Regions from separate parts of the Homo sapiens genome. Here region 2 is linked to region 1. The links are contacts of gene promoters, found by promoter capture Hi-C in blood cells and fetal thymus (Javierre and others, 2016). All regions are on one chromosome and are shown on one strand. Each heading gives the region's core, a stretch centred on a gene start or on the middle of the fragment in contact. The rest is flanking DNA. Distances are from core to core; before and after follow the strand shown. Region 1 holds the start of EFNA4 (ephrin A4). Region 2 holds the start of KRTCAP2 (keratinocyte associated protein 2).

Region 1 (5,623 bases), core at 1-2,500:
GCTCTACCTCTGACCTCTCCGGAGGTTCCGCTGCCTCCAAGCCGGACTTAGGGCTTCAAGAGGCGGGCGTGCCCTCTGGAGTCCCCTACCATGACTGAAGGCGCCAGAGACTGGCGGTGTCTTAAGACTCCGGGCACCGCCACGCGCTGTCAAGCAACACTCTGCGGACCTGCCGGCGTAGTTGCAGCGGGGGCTTGGGGAGGGGCTGGGGGTTGGACGGGATTGAGGAAGGTCCGCACAGCCTGTCTCTGCTCAGTTGCAATAAACGTGACATCTTGGGAGCGTTCCCCAGAGTTTGTCTGCTTCTAGAACCCGGGTCGCTCCTGCTGCGGTTCCAGGTTTGGCCGCCAGAAGACGCTGCCGCCTCAGACGAGGGCGGGCTGTGTGGGGCGGGAGTACCAGAAAGGGTCGGCGTGTGTCCCCGGGATGCTCGCAGCTTCCCTCTGCCCAGACTGGGGTGGCTTTCGGCGCAATCTGTCAAGCTGTTGGACCTGCCGTCCCCACTCTGACCATTGGCTGGGAAAAGTGGATCTGGCTGATGCTCCCAGAGCCCAGGAGCCAGGGCGGAGCGGGGCGGCGGCTGCTCCCACGATCCCAAGGCCGCGCACCTGCCTCCTCCCCCTCCGCCGCCGCCACCTGAGGGATCGGGAACAAAGGTGCTTTGTACAGGCCGCAACCACCTCATTACTTCGTCTTAGGGACTGGGGCCGCGTGGGCCCCCAGCCCGGAACGAAGGTGTGGAGCGGCAAGGGACAGACGCCAATCCTAAAGTGAGCATCTAGCGCGCCACCTAAGGCTCTTTAGGGAAGGTGGTCCCAGAGCTGTGTTGTCCCTTCCGCTTGCACTGTCCCTAGATGTGCAAAGAAAACGGGGCAGTGCATGAAGGTGGTTGGACAGGCTTCATGGATCCTCGCCCGCGCCTCACTTTCCCCTATCTGGGCAAAGGTTATGTACCCTTATTTAAAATCTTCCAAACTTCTAATAAGGCAGTCTACCCTGCACTAAAGCAGACACGAAAGAGATGACCTCCCTAAAAATACTGCTGTTGGAATACGTCCTTCCTTCCCGCCCCCTCGCAGTGCGGTGCAGCCTCAGTGGAAGCTTTGGCGAACCTGGCGCGCGCTGCGGTGCACAGAGGGTTAACTGGAGTTGGCGCTGGGTGGAGAGGAGGAGACGCGCTCCCATTGGCGGAAAGTTATTCAGGGGCGGGGTCAGTGAATCTCCGTACCCCACTCCCCTTTCCGCAACTTCCCTCTTCACTTTGTACCTTTCTCTCCTCGACTGTGAAGCGGGCCGGGACCTGCCAGGCCAGACCAAACCGGACCTCGGGGGCGATGCGGCTGCTGCCCCTGCTGCGGACTGTCCTCTGGGCCGCGTTCCTCGGCTCCCCTCTGCGCGGGGGCTCCAGCCTCCGCCACGTAGTCTACTGGAACTCCAGTAACCCCAGGTAGCCGGGCCGAACCGGGCGAGCGCACAGCCAAGTCTGCGCGCTCCCGGGCTTTGCGCGCGCCCGCCACCCGCTCTTTGCGCGGCGCCGCCTGAGCCTGGCCGCGCGCCGGGGCTCCTTTGTTTGAGCCGGCGGGGGAGGGGGGAGGGGCGAGGGGCGAGGCGCGCCCTGGGTCTCCCCACAGCCCGCATGTGTTGGGGGGCAGGCAGAAGACCCCAGCCCCAAGGGTTGTCTAGGGGGTCTTGGAGCATGGAGCTGGGGGGGCCTTTGCCCGCACTCCGGGCTCCGCCCCCCTCGCTGCTCTCCTGGCGATCCCCAGCCTCCCGCAGGCTGGAGCTGTGGCTGACGAACTTGAGAGCGAGGGAGGGGGCTTTACTCTTATGAAAGAGCGTGGGTTACTCTCCTGCCCGCTGGGTCTCACCTCTGGCTCTCACTCTGTCTCCTGATCTCATTTGCTATCTCTGCTTTCATCTCTGTCTTTATTGGTCCTTCTGTTTCTTTCCAGTGTCAGCCCTGCCCTTCTAGCCGAATCACCTCTGGGCAAGTCTCGTGACCTTCCTAACCTCATTTATCTCACCTGTATAATGGGCTAATAATACCTAGTACCCTGGGAAGTCTGGCAGGGTAAGTGAGGTCATGTATGTGAAAGAGGCTCAGGCTGTACAGATATAAACTATTATTTCTTTCTCTCTCCTGAGCTGCCTGCCTTTGAACCTTAGTATATTTTACTGTTTCCATCCCCCTCCCCAAGTCTCCCTGCCTCTCCTATTTCCTATCTGTTTTTCTTTCTGATTTTCTACTTGAGACAATCTGTGACTATTCATTTCTTCACTCACTAACATTTATTTATTAAACACATACTGTGTGTGCCCGGCCCTGTGCTAGGTTGCAGGGGATTAACTATATAGATGAGAAGATCAAGACCCTGCCCTCTGGGATTCCACAGACTCTCTGGAGAACAGGCGCAGGCAGGAGAGCCTGCATAAAGACAGGTCATTACAATACCAATAACAAGTGATAAGAGCTTTTGTTGTCCTTGGACTCTGAATTCTCTATCTCTGTCACAGACCAAAGCTTCTGAATCACTTGGAGGACCTGTTAAAAATTCAGGTTTCTCACCCCCCAATCTTAAGGTTTCTGGCTCATTCATTCAATCCACAAATATTTATTGAACACTGTCCTGTGCTGGGCACTTTTCCAGGCACGGGGGATGCAGTAGAACAAAACTTACCAAGGCCCTGTCCTTGCTCAGCTTGCGTTCTAGTAAGTCTGGGCTGGCTGAGCCCAGGAATCTTCATTTCTAATCAGAACTGATACAGGTCGTCCTTGGACCACCCACTGGAGGCTTTTCCTAAGTCATGCTTCGCTGTGTTTGTGGTATGGGGGGTGGTTCATGCAGCATTCAGTACTGTGGGGAGCAGCCCCTTCCAGCCCTTCCCACCTGTGCTGGCTTCCCCAGGCAGCTCCCAAGAGGTGGGGAAGGGAGTCCTGAGAAGACTGAAGACTGGGTAGTATGTGGACTCCCCCCATGCCTGGCACTTGCTCCTCCTGGCCAAAAAAGGGAGGCACCTAGCACCCACTCCCTCATTCTTTTTTTTTTTTTTTTTTTAATTTTTAGAATTTAGAGACAGGGTCTTGCTCTGTCACCCAGGCTGTAGTGCGGTGGCATAATAGCTCACTACAGGAACTTGCGGACTCTAAGGATCCTCCCGCCTCAGCCTCCCAAGTAGCTGGGACTACAGGAGTGCACCACCACTCATGGCCTTTATTTATTTATTTATTTATTTATTTATTTATTTATTTATTTATTTTTTGAGATGGAGTCTCGCTCTGTCTCCCAGGCTGGAGTGCAGTGGCGCAATCTCGGCTCACTGCAAGCTCCGCCTCCCGGGTTCACGCCATTCTCCTGCCTCAACCTCCCAAGTAGCTGGGACTACAGGTGCCCGCCACCACGCCCGGCTAGTTTTCTTTTTATATTCTTAGTAGAGACGGGGTTTCACCGTGTTAGCCAGGATGGTCTTGATCTCCTGACCTCATGATCCGCCCGCCTCAGCCTCCCAAAGTGCTGGGATTACAAGCGTGAGCCACCGCGCCCAGCCTATTTATTTATTTATGGTAGAGACAGTCTCACCATGTTGCCCAGGCTGGTCTTGAACTCCTGGCCTCAAGCGATCCTCCCACCTCGGCCTCCCAAAGTGCTGGGATTCAGATGTGAGCCACCACACCTGGCCTCCCTCATTCTTTTTTTACCGTGACATTCTTTTCACCCTTGGGTTGAAGTCAGTCTAAAGGACAGTGTTCCTCACTTTATATCTGTTTGAGGAGACCTTTCCCAACCCCTGTTTCCACCTCTGTGTCTGCAGCTGCACTGTGTGCAACTGTACCTCCTGCCTCTCTGCCCAGCTTCTTCACAGCATCCATCCACCTGACATTGATCAAGCCTGGTGCTATACCACATTGAGTGTTGGGCACTGGAGCTAGAGAGGTGTGTGGCAGCTCCAGCCTGTAGGACAGGGTGTGGTGACCCTCCTTCTCACATCTAAGCTGTGTGGTTATGGGCACTGCAGGTCTTAGCCTCTCGGAACCTGTGAATCGATCATCTCATCCATTTCTTGCACTCTCTTTGTCTCTCAAGAGTTGTCAGTCTGGGAACCTCGGGCCTTCCTGAGCTGCTCCATCGCACATGGGTGGAGGAGAGGCTGGCAGGGGCCTCTGAGAAGGGGTGTCTCTGGCATCCATGGCCATGGCGTGGTGCCCTCCACTCCTCAGCCCACCCCTGCGTTATGCCTGCAGGTTGCTTCGAGGAGACGCCGTGGTGGAGCTGGGCCTCAACGATTACCTAGACATTGTCTGCCCCCACTACGAAGGCCCAGGGCCCCCTGAGGGCCCCGAGACGTTTGCTTTGTACATGGTGGACTGGCCAGGCTATGAGTCCTGCCAGGCAGAGGGCCCCCGGGCCTACAAGCGCTGGGTGTGCTCCCTGCCCTTTGGCCATGTTCAATTCTCAGAGAAGATTCAGCGCTTCACACCCTTCTCCCTCGGCTTTGAGTTCTTACCTGGAGAGACTTACTACTACATCTGTGAGTGGCCAAGGGCACACTGGACACCTCTTGTGTACCAGAAGGGTAGGGAGGGGGAAGGAGAGGCCTGGAAGGAGGAGGGGGCTGGGTCTCTAATGTACATCGGGTTGAGGTATGGGCTGAACTCAGGACTGAGGAGGGAAATGTCTAGAAAGGAGAAAGTAGGAGGAGCTAGGAAAGGGGGCCAGGGAGATGAGAGGACTGGATGGGGCCTGATACATGGGTGTGGCCCCAAAGTAAGGAAACGCTTTCCAGGGACCTGGAGAGAAGAAAACCTGGGAGGGTCTGAAACAGTCTGAGGCATACAAAGGGGTGACTCCCTGTGCTAACTTTTTCCCACTTTCCCACTACCCAGCGGTGCCCACTCCAGAGAGTTCTGGCCAGTGCTTGAGGCTCCAGGTGTCTGTCTGCTGCAAGGAGAGGAGTAAGTGGGTTGGGAGCATGGACCCTACTGGCTAATGTGGGGCCTTGGGAAGGAGGGAAGGAGTGAGAAGAATCTAGGAGGATCAGACTCCAGGGGTCCTGGTGAAGCTTCAAGCTGTGGTCTCTTCTCCCCATTTAGCCTTGAGGGAGCTTCTACTGCACCATCCTCTCCCCACTTCTGTTTTGTTTTGTTTTGGTTTTAGACGGAGTCTCGCTCTGTTGCCCAGGCTGGAGTGCAGTGGCTCGATCTCAGCTCACTGCAAGCTCCGCCTCTCTGGTTCACGCCATTCTCCTGCCTCAGCCTCCGGAGTAGCTGGGACTACAGGCACCCGCCACCACACCCGGCTAATTTTTTGTATTTTTAGTAGAGATGGGGTTTCACCGTGTTAGCCAGGATGGTCTCGATCTCCTGACCTTGTGATCTGCCCACCTCAGCCTCCCAAAGTGCTGAGATTACAGGCATGAGCCACCACCCCCAGCTCCCCCACTTCTTTTTTAAGAGACAGGGTCTTGCTGTGTTGCCCAGGCTGGAATGCAGTGGCACGATCATACCTCTCTGCAGCCTCAAACTCCTGGGTTCAAGCGATTCTCCTGCCTTAGCTTCCCGAGTAGCTGGGATTACAGGCATGTGCCACCACAACTCACAACTGGCTAAATTACTTTTTATTTTTTG
Region 2 (5,623 bases), core at 2,264-4,763, 110 kb after region 1:
CAGGTGGTGACACAGACTCGGTGGATGAGGCCAGATGCAAAGAGAGCCAACAGGAGGCACAGGAGAACTAGGGAGGCAAGAAGAACAAGGAGGGCAACGGTCAGAATGGAAATACTAGGCATCTGCACATGGAGTCCAGGAGAAATCCGGGGCTCTCTGAATCCTGGGGAACCTGCTTAGAAGGGTAAGCGTGACTACAGCAGGAGGATTCTGATTACCTTAATGATACCCAGAACATGGAGGTAGGAGGTTGAGTGTGGTGGCTTGCACCTGGAATCCCAGCACTTCGGGAGGCTGAGGTGGGCAGATCACTTGAGCCCAGGAGTTTGAGACCAGCCTGAACAACAAAGTGAGACCCATCTCTTAAAAAAAAAAAAAATTGAATTAAAAAAAATTTAGCCAGGTAGTACAGTGGTACACATGCCTGTAGTCCCAGCTATTCAGGAGGCTGAAGTTGGAGGAACCCTTGAGCCAGGAAGTTCAAAGTTGCAGTGAACTGTGATCGCACCACTGCACTCCAGCCTGGGCAACAGAGTGAGACCCCGTCTCCAAAAAAAAAAAAAAAAAAAAAGAACATGGATGTAGATGTATGCTTTTTTTTACCAGCTCTGCCCCATATCTCACATAACTTCCCTACCCTGGCTTTCCTCCCATAAAAGGAAAAAGGAAAGGTGATGGACAACAGAGTCTGAAGGGCAAGGTGTGTTCCCATTTGGGGAACCCAGTTAAACCCTTTCCAAAAGAAGCCAGACAATGAGAGTCAATTCATTAAGCTGGGTGACCAGTGGTGGAAGTTGAAGGCCTTGCTCCCTGGACACAGGTTGGAGGGCAGAGTGCTTGGATCTACTTCTTCATGGGGGCAGGAAAGGATTTTAGGTTACCTGGAATATGATGGGAGAGAAGGTGAGAGGACAAAAGCAAAGACAAACAGGGCCCCACCTGCCCAGGTGGAGAGGGCAGAGAAGGCAAAGTGGGCCAAGAACTTTGCCCCACCACAATGGCATCTTTTCTTTTTTTATTATTTTTTTTTATTTTTGAGGCAGAATCTCACTCTGTCGCCCAGGCTGGAGTGCAGTGGTGCAGTTTCAGCTCACTGCAGCCTTGATCTCCTGGGCTCAAGCGATCATCCCACCTCAGCTTCCCGAGTACCTGGGACTATAGGTGCGTACCACCATGCCCGGCTAATTTTTGTATTTTTTTGGAGAGACAGGGTCTCTCTATGTTGCCCAAGCTGGTCTTGAATTCCTGGGCCCAAGCTATCTGCCAGCCTACACCTCCCAAAGTGCTAGGATTACAGGCGTGTGCCATCCCACCCAGCCAATGGTTTCTTTCAGAAGCAACTGAAAAGCCAGGCACAGTGGCTCACCCCTGTAATCCCAGCACTCTGGGAGGCCAAGACGGGTGGATCACTTAAGGTCAGGAGTTCAAGACCAGCCTAACCAACATGGTGAAATCCTATCTCTACCAAAAATACAAAAATTAGCCAGTTATGGTGGCGCACGCATGTAATCCCAGCTACTCGGGAGGCTGAGGCAGGAGAATCGCTTGAACCTGGGAGGCAGAGGCTCCAGTGAGCTGGGTTCACACCACTGTACTCCAGCATGGGTGACAGAGCGAGACTCCATCTCAAAAAAAAAAAAAAAAAGAAGCAAGTGAAGGTAATACATATGGAAACAAAACCTAACAGAGAGAAGTCCCGGGGCTACTGGATGGAAAGAACTCTGAAGCCTGCAAAAGGGCTATGCGGAGAAAGCAAGTCCTAGAGGGGGGCAAAGAAATGAGGGCAGCCAGGCACAGTGGCTCACACCTGTAATTCCAGCACTCTGGGAGGCTGAAATAGGAGGATCACTTGAGCCCAGGAGTTCGAGACCAGCCTGGGCAATGTGGTGAAACCCCATCTCTACAAAAACTTAAAACAGTAGCTGGGTGTGGTGGCACTCACTGGTAGTCCCAGCTACTGGTAAGACTGAGGAGGGAAGATTGCTTGAGACCAGGTCAAGGCTTCAGTGATCACATCCCTGCACTCCAGCCTAGGCGACAGAGTAAAGCCTTGTCTCAAAAAAAAAAAAAAAAAAAAAAGAGAAAAGATTAAGGGCAACCATGATAGATCTTTGTTTTACCACATGAGGGTTTTACATGAGATTGCATCTGCTGTGAATTTCTGAGCACGTGGCATTCCTTAAGTAATCTGGCCTTGACACTTAATTTGCTTTATAAACTTAATTCTCCATAAATAACTGAATCATCAATTCTTGATTACATGAGCAATTGAACAAGAATTATTCCAAACAGGAAATAATCTAACAGTTATTCTGATTTGGTCAGGATTCCTGCTGCCATAGATATTTGGTGCCTCTAGTATTTAGGCTCTTCACAATTCCCTCAAATAAGTAGAATTCTCTAATATTGAGTTAACTTCACATCAGAACTCCATAGTGAACTTGGTCCTGCTGCTTCTTCTGGTGGGAACAAGGACCGCCTCCCAGCGAATAGATGCAAAACATCAGCCCAAATTTGCCTGTTCCCCTCAAACCTTCCCTGGGAGCTGGCCAGAAGGTACCAAAGTTTCTTGCTTTCAAAGGCCTTCTCTTCCAGCTCCAACTCCAGGAGCTATACAAGGTGCAGAATCGAAAAGCGTCATCTGTCTTCAGACAGCTTCAGTAAATATATTTCTCCTTAACAACCTTTCACCTAAGCATCTGGAAATTCAATATCATGTTTCAGGAGGTTAAAGAGGAGAAAGTTCAAATACTCAAGCTCCAATATTCACTTACTCTCAGGGAAGATCTTTGCTTGGAATCCTTTGCCAAAGACAAGATTCTCCAGATTATTGAAGGCCTGGTTGAGGGAGTTAAGGAGTAGGGTGTGCAACGGGGACAGAGCTGTGTGGGGAAGGGGAAGGGCACATGCCTACGTGGCCCGCCCCCTCCAACTGCAGGGAGGATACAGTGAGCGAGAACACGAAGAGACCCGAACCAAGCAGGCCGCCCTGGATGGTGAGCCACTCGGTGGAGGCCAGCTGACGGCTGTACATCTGCATCCCAGCAAAGAGCAGCAGGGACAGGAGGGAGGAGAGCGCCAGCGAGGTGCCCGTACCCACCACTGGAGGGGATGGGAGAAGGGACGGAGAGTCAGGCTCCGCCCTCCCTCCGGCAAGCTACGGGCAGATCAGCCGGTCCGGAAGCTCGGTGGGCCGACCCCCTCCAAGAACTCCCGGGACTGCAGCCACACGCCCCAACTCCCCACACCGCGCGGCAACCCCTACGTATTCCCCAGCCCCGGACACCCCGAACCCTCCCGTCCGGTGGAAATGCCCGCTCCCGGTGGAACCCAGGACACGTCAGCTCTGTCGGGAGAGGACGAGGAAAGCTTGTCCACCCAAACCCCGACCCCCTCTAGGACTTCCTGGGGACCCCACCGGTCCTGTTACCCATCATGCCCCGCCCGTGAGTCCAACCGGCGCCTCTGGCCAAGAAAGGCGAGCTGAACCGGGTGCGGTTAGCTATGCGCATGCGTCAGCGCTTACCGCGGACTTGCTACTCCTCGCGTTCTCCTCTTTCTTCCTCTCAGTGCCTGGACGCAGCGCCCTCTTGCGACAGGGAGGAAATAATGCGTCGAGGGGGCATCCTCGGCCACCGCCCTGGTCCTCAGGCTTTCCTCGTACCTGGTGCGTCTGCTGCCACTCTGTACAAGGTGCACTTATCTCTTTAAGTCATTGGGCCCATGCCTGTGGCATCTATCCCATCTCTGTCTTCTTTGCCATTTCTTTCATCTCTAGTGCACGTTCCTCAAACCTCCCTGCCCCATGCCTCAACATCTCCCAACCTAAAATTTAGTGCTCCCAACCAGGAACTCATTTTCCTCCGAAACTAATCCCCCGCTTTATATGAGTAAAATTAGGAGCCAATGAAAAATGAGAATGTAAGAAATGGCTCCCCCGTCAAATACCTTTCCATATTCCCCAACCCCCCGACCGGCTTTCGAGAACCACGTGGGGAGAACTATTTCCCACCCCCTACCCCGACGGGCGCTGTTCGAGGCTGGTCCCGGGAGCATGCGCAGTGACACCTCAACCCCCAGCCCTCCTCACACCCCCACTGGGCTCCTGCATTAAGCCCGGGGTTCGCAGCCGCAGCCGGGATCGGGCACCCAGGGGCGGGCGGGCACGGTAGGGCCATGGCAGAGGGTGAGGATATGCAGACCTTCACTTCCATCATGGACGCACTGGTCCGCATCAGTGTGAGTTAAGGTGGGGTCGAGGGAAGGGGAGGGGGCGTATAGGGTTCTGGGGCAAGCTGGGACCTGGAACAGGTGGGGATCCAGGAAGATGCTGGGATGTAGACAGGGGGCTAGCGATGGCAGAAACGGCTGGGAGGGTCGGGATGCAGGTATGAGAGGGTAATCCCGGGAGCAGCCCGGAGGTGAGTGCCGTGAAGGCGTCGGTGTGCTGGAGCGTGAGGAGGAGCTAGGAGCAGCCCAGACGCAGCGGGTGGGCTGGGGTGGCCTCCAGCAGTGCACCGGGGCTGGGGCTTCAGGGGAAAGGCCCTGTTATGAGAAGAGGGACGTGTGAGCTTGGATATTTTCCAAGAAAACTGAGGACAGGTGGGGGATGATGTAGGAGCCGCCCCACAGTGCAGTTCCCAATTTGGACCCCTCCCCAAGACCCCACCCCACGCACCCCCACTCAGGGCTGCTTCCGAGCCTGCGGTTGTCATGGCAACCCGTGCCTGGCTCTCCCAGGGGCGGTGCCAACCGTGTTCCCCCCCACCACTTCCTCCCCCCCTCCTTGTTCCTCCCTCCTTTGTGTCAGCTGCGCCCCTGACCGGGATGGCTGCGAAGAGAGGGACCAAGGTGAGGTGTGGGGGTGGGGCATAGCCTGAGGACCCCCACTCTCGCCACCAAGAGGGGGAGGGGACTTCCGGTGGGGAGGGGGCGAGTAGGCGGGGCTCTTGATTCCCCCGCTAGTTCGGAGAAGGGGGTGCCGCTGACCGGGTTGCGCTGCGGGAGAGGGCGGGAGGGCCTGATGGGGGCGAAGGGGAATGGGTTGGTAAGACCGATGGGGAAGTGAAGGATGGGGAATGGAGGCTGGAGTGGCCGCAGGCCGGAGCTGCGGCAGGAGGACGTATGGAGCGAGCAGGATGGAGTGCCAACCTCGCCTGGCTATCGGGAGGAATCACGGCATGGGGGTGCTGCTAGAGAAGGGAGTGGGGGTCTGCATGGAGCTGCAGAATGGGCGGTGTCCTTGAGAAAAATGCCAGGGGCAAGCTGCCCAGAGATGGGGGATGGAGGCAGGTGAGGGGGCTGCCAGCTGGGGCTACTGCAGCTGGAGAAATGGGGATTGGGCTTGAGGCTGGAGCAGGCACAAGCTCCAACCGTCCCTCCTCTGGGCCTTTAGCTCTGCAGCGGGGAAAGAGAAGCAAGGGACAGAGGTCTGGGAAGGTCTGTGAACCAGCCCAAGGCAGGTGCTCTGGAAAAGCTGCAGGTAGCTTGTCTTGCTCCTTCCTCAGACCCCTAGGGTATCCAAGGGCAGCCAAGGGGCTGCTGAGGTATGCCTAAGTGTCCAAGCGCTGACCTAGCCTCCTGGTCCCTCCACAGACCAGCATGAAGAACATGGAGAAGGAAC

Evidence for each region. Contacts are between HindIII fragments. The CHiCAGO score rates a contact against its expected background, and 5 or more counts as called.
Region 2: the fragment with the promoter of KRTCAP2 here is called in contact with the fragment with the promoter of EFNA4 in region 1 in 2 of 17 cell types (megakaryocytes and endothelial precursors); the score reaches 5.3 in megakaryocytes.

Annotation. Positions count from the first base shown.
Region 1 is chr1:155,062,490-155,068,112 of GRCh38, forward strand. It overlaps EFNA4 (ephrin A4), which reads left to right and starts at 1,251. Exons shown (of 4, transcript NM_005227.3): 1 at 1,251-1,447; 2 at 4,241-4,527; 3 at 4,883-4,951. The coding sequence starts at 1,335. It overlaps ADAM15 (ADAM metallopeptidase domain 15), which reads left to right. Exons shown (of 23, transcript NM_207197.3): 23 at 1-286. The coding sequence ends at 13. It overlaps EFNA4-EFNA3 (EFNA4-EFNA3 readthrough), which reads left to right and starts at 1,251. Exons shown (of 5, transcript NM_001407761.1): 1 at 1,251-1,447. The coding sequence starts at 1,335. DCST1-AS1 (DCST1 antisense RNA 1) reads right to left here and starts at 1,502. Exons shown (of 4, transcript NR_040773.1): 1 at 1,268-1,502. It also overlaps ADAM15-EFNA4. RefSeq lists silencers at 652-741, 1,122-1,271, 1,562-1,711 and an enhancer at 2,202-2,703. The HindIII fragment of the contact is 1,420 bases long and covers 1,100-2,519 here.
Region 2 is chr1:155,169,791-155,175,413 of GRCh38, forward strand. KRTCAP2 (keratinocyte associated protein 2) reads right to left here and starts at 3,514. Exons shown (of 5, transcript NM_173852.4): 1 at 3,431-3,514; 2 at 2,948-3,102; 3 at 2,775-2,838; 4 at 1-67. The coding sequence starts at 3,434. TRIM46 (tripartite motif containing 46) reads left to right here and starts at 4,059. Exons shown (of 10, transcript NM_025058.5): 1 at 4,059-4,239; 2 at 5,596-5,623. The coding sequence starts at 4,177. RefSeq lists enhancers at 2,894-3,173, 3,277-3,785, 3,364-3,463, 3,664-3,713, 3,786-4,294 and silencers at 4,044-4,133, 4,303-4,597. The HindIII fragment of the contact is 8,946 bases long and covers 3,368-5,623 here.